2 separate regions of the Homo sapiens genome follow, and region 1 is linked to region 2. The links are contacts of gene promoters, found by promoter capture Hi-C in blood cells and fetal thymus (Javierre and others, 2016). All regions are on one chromosome and are shown on one strand. The core of a region is centred on a gene start or on the middle of the fragment in contact, and the rest is flanking DNA. Distances in the headings are between cores, read along the strand shown.

Evidence for each region. The method cuts DNA at HindIII sites, captures the fragments that hold promoters and counts their contacts. A CHiCAGO score of 5 or more calls a contact.
Region 1: a contact is called between a fragment that was not itself captured here and the fragment with the promoter of SLC6A12 in region 2, in 2 of 17 cell types (erythroblasts and M1 macrophages). The highest score is 6.4, in erythroblasts.

The regions. Positions count from the first base shown.
Region 1 is chr12:78,983-82,248 of GRCh38, forward strand. All of the region lies in intron 1 of IQSEC3 (IQ motif and Sec7 domain ArfGEF 3), which reads left to right. Among named protein-coding and RNA genes, the nearest start is that of IQSEC3, 14 kb to the left of the region's middle. The HindIII fragment of the contact is 152 bases long and covers 1,546-1,697 here.
Region 2 is chr12:212,624-216,222 of GRCh38, forward strand. SLC6A12 (solute carrier family 6 member 12) reads right to left here and starts at 1,534. Exons shown (of 16, transcript NM_001122848.3): 1 at 1,299-1,534. RefSeq lists an enhancer at 644-1,415. The HindIII fragment of the contact is 26,496 bases long and covers 1-3,599 here.

The DNA of each region.
Region 1 (3,266 bases), core at 372-2,871, 130 kb before region 2:
CTTTCAAATATTTGAAGGCAGATAGCCATCCTTCCCTTCCCTTGCCTTCCAGTCCACTGACACCCCTCCGCCATCTACTTTCAGGAGAACATACCTGATCCTGGCACTTCCTGCTCCTCATGGTTCTGCGGGTGGCCCTGCCTCACCTGGGTTACTGCTCTCCGAGAACACAGAGGGAGCTGGGAGTGAGCCCTGCAGCGCAGGGGCTGTGGCCAGACCAGCTTTGGGCACAGGGAGGCCCTCCCTCACCCCCCGCCTAGCTTTGGATGGTGGCTAGGGACCCACTGGCTTTCTCAGCCCCAGCCACAGATGGGACCTATCACACATGAGGTCAGCTAAAGCCTCAGGGCTCTTTCACTTGAAGGACTCTGGCTTCTGGCCACCTGTACTTGTACAGGTGGCTTTTAACATACACACAAAATTGCTAATGTAATTTGCTTTTAATGTAATTCACCTTTTCCTTTCTTTAAGAGATGGTGACTCTGTCACCCAGGCTGGAGTACAGTGGCACAATCATTGCTCTCTGCAGCCTCGAACTCCTGCGCTCAAGTGATCCTCCCACCTCAGCCTCCCAGGTAGCTAGGACTACAGGCATGCATCACGACACCTGACTAATTTTCTTTGTTTTTGTAGAGACGGAGGCCTCCCTATGTTGCCCAGGCTGGTCTCGAACTCCTGGCCTCAAGCAATCTTCCCAATTCAGCCTCCAGAGTAGCTTGATTTACTCTTTTCAAATAGACAATACATTGACCTAGTACAAGATTCAAAAGAAAAGAGTTTACAGTGAAAAGCATCGCCCCCATCCTTGTTTCCTAACCACTCGAATTCCTGCCCGCCCCCACACCTTCCAGCAACCACTATTATTTCTCACGTCTTTCCAGCTATATGTACATTTAAGCAAAATGTTTATTTCTTTTTACAGAGATACTAGTATCCTATATGCTGTTCTGCACCTTGAGTTTTGTTCCCTAATAATGTATCTTAGTGATCTTTCCTTATTAAATATAAAAAGAGCTGCCGCGTTCTTTTTTAATAGCCGCAAAATATTCCACTGTATGGCTGTGAAGCTAGGTCCTTTCTGCTGTCTGCTGAGAGTTTTGGAAGGCAAGTAATTATTTAAGGTGGGCTTTCTGAGGGCCAGAGAGGGGAGGAAGCAGGTATGATTGAGCAGCTGCATTTGAACTTGCCTCTCTGGCTGACGTGCTGCTGCAGCCTCCTGCAGACATGGGTCAGTTGCAGCAGAAATACGATTCGGCAAGTGCTTCTCCGTCTGAAAACTCCAGCTTGGTTCACTTTTGCTCCCCGGGGCTCCCTTTGTTGTCAGCAGTTATCAAGTTTGGGGGAGCCATCAGGGTGTTAGCATCTGGCTCTAAACCAGCTGAAGGTGAGTCCTACAACCCCAGCAGTTTCAGGAAGCCTTCCTGAACCGATCTGATAAATAAATAGATGTTCTTATAGCCTCACTCCTTACTTTTCACCCCAGGCTGAGCACACACCAGTCCTTGCTAAGAACAAAATTAGTTCTTTATTCTTGTGGCTTAGAAAAGCTTGTTTTCTTCTTTCTGTAAGTATATATTTTCCTGGCATCTGTATTCTTCCTTTCACTTAACAAATATTTATTATCTGCTGTGTGCCAGTTACTATTCTAGGCCCTGGGGTATAGCAGTGAACAAAAAAACTCCCAAATTCCTTTATGAAGCTTACAGACAAACAAGATCACTAATGAAAACTTATAGTGCATCTGATGGGATAAGAGCCCTGGAGAAAAAGCAGAGAAGAGACCCGGAATAAAGGAATCTGCACTTTCAAACTGGGTGCCCTGGGGAGACAGCACCTGAGCAAAGTCCTGGAGGAGGGGAGGGAGGGAGTTCTGTGGCTGTCTGGGGACGGGCATTCCTGGCAGGACAAACAGCTAGCATAGAGGCCAAGGGTGGGACCCTGCCAGGTTGTTCAAGTAAGACAAGGGCCGAGAGCACAGGGAGAGGCGCCTGAGGCCAAGTCAGAGAGATTGTTGGGGCATGGGAGGGTAGGAGGGTGCAGGCGCGTAGCAGATCTTGTAAGAGATTCTCAACTGGGATTTCCAGGTCCACCAGGGAGCATTTGGAATGTGTGGGCACATTTTAGTTGTCACAAATGCTGATGGGGCTTGGATGAGGAAGGTTGTTGTTCTGTGGCATGCAGTGGGTAAGGGCCATGTCAAACATCCTGCAGTGTGTGGGACAGACCACACAGTGAAGAATTTTCCTGCCAGAAATGCCCCTGTTTCTTGTTGTTGAGGGCATTGGAGTCCGTTAGGAAGTGTTTGGCTTTTACCTTCAGAAAAACTAGGAACCAGTGGATGACTTTGAGCAGAGGGTGCTTAAAAGGAACTTTGGATGCTGGTTTGAGAATAGACTGAAGAGGGAAGAAAGGCAGAAGCAGGGAGTTCAGGTAGAAGGTTGTTACACAGCCCAGGTAAGAGATGCTAGTAGCTTGGACCAGGGTAGTAGCAATGAAAGTATGATCTGCAGCCAAGACAACAGTACTTCCTGAGGGATCAGTGTGGGATGTGAGACAAAGAGGAGTTGAGGATGAGCTCAAGGTTTGGGGCCAAAGTTATTAGAAGGATGGGATGGAGAAGTCCATGGGGGATGAGGAGGTTTGAGCATTTGACGGATGGCGTTTGAGACAGCTCTTAGATGTTTGAGAGGAGATGTGCAGTAGGCATTTGGAATGGGCTGGAGGTATAACTTTGGGATGCTTTTAAAGCCTTGAGACTGGGCCACGCCACCAAGGAGTGAGAACAGAAGATGAAAGAGGCCTAGGGCAGATTTGCAATGCACACAACACTAAAAGGTGGGCATGGGAGCTGAGAAGGAGCACCCAGAGGGAGGAGAACAGCCAGGAGAAGCACCTAGTGTTCTGGCAAAGAGCGTTTCAAAGGCTGCTGAAACGTGGAGGATGCAGACTGAGAACTGTCCATTAGCTTTAGCAACATTCAGGTAATTGGTGACCTTGAAAAGCATAGTCTTGGGAGTGGATTTGGAGGCTTGATTAGTGGGTTTGAGAGAGAAGGGAGGAGAGACTTTAGAGACAAATCAACCAAATAGAACATGTGGACCTTTGATCCGGCTTGATTTAGACAAAGCCATTGGAACTAGACATTTTTAAGACAGTCGGGGAATTTGAACGTAGATGAAGTATTAGGTGATGTTAGAAAATTGTTAATTTAGTTAGGTATGATTATGGTACTCATATCTTTTTAAAGTTCTTACCTATTAGAGGGA
Region 2 (3,599 bases), core at 284-2,783:
GCTGGCCCCGAGCCGTGGTAACTCAAGAGGGAACACGCTTAAACTGCAGCAAGAGGGATTTAAGTTAGACTCAGGGAAGAAATGGCCCAGAGGATGTTAGACACCAAAACAAGCTGTACTGAGTTCTCCTTTCTGGGCTACTTTTAAAAGGCAAAGGACTACACACCCCACCCCCGCTGTGCCCTTCCACCTCCAGCTTCGGCTGGCCGCCTCTCCAGCCCCTCGAGTCTCCTCCAAGGCCGCCCACCTGCTTTGCTAAGCCGGGACAGGGGGGTGAGGGGTGGGGGATGGGCCTCATCATACTTCAGTGCCCTCCAGAAGCAAACACACCAATTTCCACACCGGGCTTGGTGCTGCCCAGAGAGCAAATCTTCAAGAGACTAGAAAGTCCAAAGTTAAGTCTGTTTTCAGGAGCTGGGCATGTCGCCAGAGGCCCAGCTGGGGCTAGCAGAGGTGCAGACGAGACCAGAAATGCTGCTGCCCATGTGCTGCTGGGATCCCAGCTCTGTCCCCTTTGCTCCCCAGTCCAGCATAGGAATAGCTCAGACCCTGCACACGGGGGGATGGGACACCCAGCCCCTGCTTCAGTCCACACCCACATACCAACACCCATTCCCATACACACACTGGTGCCATTTCCCGTCACGTCCCTTCGCACACACATACCTGTGTGCATGGCACCAAAACCTGGCTCTCTCTGTAGTCCTTCACACCCCGTGAGTGCCGGTCTCAGCTGGTGGCTGCCTGCAACTCCCCTGAGTGCCCCCCTCGGGTACAAGCACACCCATAGCATCCACCGCCCAAAGCCAAGACAGCTTCCTCCTGGGAGGCGCCTGGCACCCAGCTCGTCACGCTCAGCCGGCAGGCAGCGGGCAGGAACCCCTCACCTGTGATCATTTATTGCAGTTCCTGGGCCCTCGGGAATGCCCCGAGGTTTCTCCTGTCCACTTCTCCTTCCACCTTGCTGGGCACCACCTGCTTCCCCTCCCCTCGTCAGATGACCACCCCTGCTTTCACCCACTGCCGTGACCAGCTGCCCATCGCTGGACTTTCCTGCTCCACAGGCTAATCACTGAGCTGCTCCCACGCTGGATGGGGCGGAGCTAGGGGGCACCCCTTGTCCTGAGAGTCGTGGGCATCAGACTTGCCCTTTGGCCTGAGGTTATTGCAGGTCCTGCCCCCCGCTGCAGACACGCAGTTCCACAGAGTCTCGCTTCCCAGGGCTCTATCCCTCCAGCCCCTCTGAGCAGCAGTTGGAGACTGCAAAGACAGAGCCAGCCCCTCCACTTCCCGCTCACCTCAGTCCCCAGCACCGGCTCCTGTGGTCAGCTTGGCTGTGGGCATCAGGTCTCCAGGAGAGTCCCAAGGCAGCTGCTTATGGGAAAGCCAAGAGAGCCGGGACCTGAAAGGGAAACTGCCCTCCACGTTCACGCCTTACCCTGTTCCTCCCAGCGCAGAATCCCATGTGACTTGTCCAGGGACTCCCAGACAGAAAGAAGCCGTGTGTGTATGTGTTGGGGCGGGGGCTGTGTGTGTTGGGGAGTGAAAGGACAGAGAAATACCAGGAGCAGCAGGAGGGACTGAGGCCAAAAGTTTGTGAACCGAGATTACAACATCCAACCTCAGGAAGTCAAGTCCTCTGTCCCCAGCGCTCCCACCCCCATCCCACTCCCACTGTGAACCCACTGTCTCCAGACCGGTGCCCTCCCCGTGGGCACAGTCCCATGATGGCCCCTCCAGAGCTGGGCTGAGCTGCTGCTCCCTTGGGCAGGGGAAGGGGCTCAGAGACTCACACCCTGACCTCATCTCCCCTCCTCCTCCTCCTTGCCCTTCCCCCTTCCCCCTTTTCCCCTATCCCCCTCCAGAACCATCTCCTTCCCAGGGATGAGGAGACGGGTATGTGCAGCACAGGGGACAGCCCTCTCTTACCAGAGACTCCAGGCTATAAACTGAGAACCTTGGGAGGGGAGGTGACCTCACTGACGAGGGCAAGGGAGGAGGGTGAATCACACGCTGGAGTTTTCCACCAAGTACCTGCCCTCTGTGGCTTCTAGGCAAGGCCCTGGACCTTCACAACCCTTCTCCTTGGGATTTTCCTAGAGAAAGCACCCAGAGCGTACCTCAAGAAGCAATGTAGAGAGGACCCAGGATTGGGACCAGACAGACCTGAGTTTCTTCTCCTCCTCTATCATGTATCAGTCACGACAGCTAGGCAAGGGTCAGCCTTGGTTTCCCAGTCTGTCAAAGGTAGGTAACAACACAATATCTACTTTGCGGGGTTGCTGTGAGGGTGCAGGGATATCATAGGTGCTTAAGGGGAGGTGTGGGTGTTTGTTGTGTGTCCTCTGGAAGCAGAGGCTGGGATGGTGGGGTGTCTGGTCCCAGGCACCTCTGGTCACTGCATAGCACCAGGCACCTAGCTAGAATTTGTCTGGAGTGGCCTGCCAGCTATCAATGGGGAAGGGTATTTTTTGAATACATGTGCCCTATGCCGTGTGCCCAGTGAGCTCCTCCAGAACAGCGTCCTGGTCACTGTCCCTGAGCACGCCCACCTGGTGTGGGGTACAGCACTGTCCCACCGCCCTTCATTCAGAATAGCTGGTGCCTCCTTCAAGACAAAGGAGGTGCTTCTTCAGCTCTAGGTGGTATGAAGGGAGAGGAAGTTGCAGGGAGAAAGGGAAATTTCCTTTTACATGTGCTTCCTCTGTGTATTTTAGAACTTCCCAGCAGGGGTGGGGTGTGAAGTGAGACTCTCAGTCTGTAGTTTTCCATCAAGCACCCCCACGATATGTCTCTCGGGCCCCTCTCAGCCTCTCCTGTGGGGTTCCACATGAAGAGGAAGGCAGAGCAGGTCTCAGCTCTCAGACCCATTGCCTCTATGAAAGCAGAAGCCGGGCTGGGGGTCAGCTGTGGCACAGTAGGACATGGCCCAGCCAGAATCCATACTTGAGCTACCCCGGTGCTCAGGTGTGGCCTGTCCCTGCATGTCAGGTCCACCATGGATTGACCACAGAGTTATTGCAGAGGGGACATCAAAGTCCATGTGATCACCTAGCTACAGCTACTCCAGAACAAAACACCAGCCTCTCCATAAAAAGGAGAAAGAGGGGAGAGGATCAGACAAGCCAAGATGGTGAATTTCCTTGTTGGTTCCCTCAAAAATTATATTTAGCACATACAGTGTGACATGCTTTCTGTGAGGATGAACAGCAACAGCCCAGCAGTCCTGTCACCTCTCCTTCACCTTGTCAGAGAACAGCTGCCTGGTTGACCTGGCCCAGGGGGTACAGTTTGACTTTCCCCCAAAAGAGCTACCTGGTCCCTCCCTGTTTTTATCTGACTGCCTCTGGCCTTAGTCCCACCATCTTAATGTTGAGCCCTTCCTCACTCAAGTTTTCCTAGCCTCCAAGACCCACTTGGTATTCAGACCAGTTAGTAAACTTCTGGAGGCCAGAGACTCTCTAATGTTGAGCCCTTCCTCACTCAAGTTCTCCTAGCCTCCAAGACCCACTTGGTATTCAGACCAGTTAGTAAACTTCTGGAGGCCAGAGACTCTCTAATGTTGAGCCCTTCCTCACTCAAGTTCTCCTAGCCTCCAA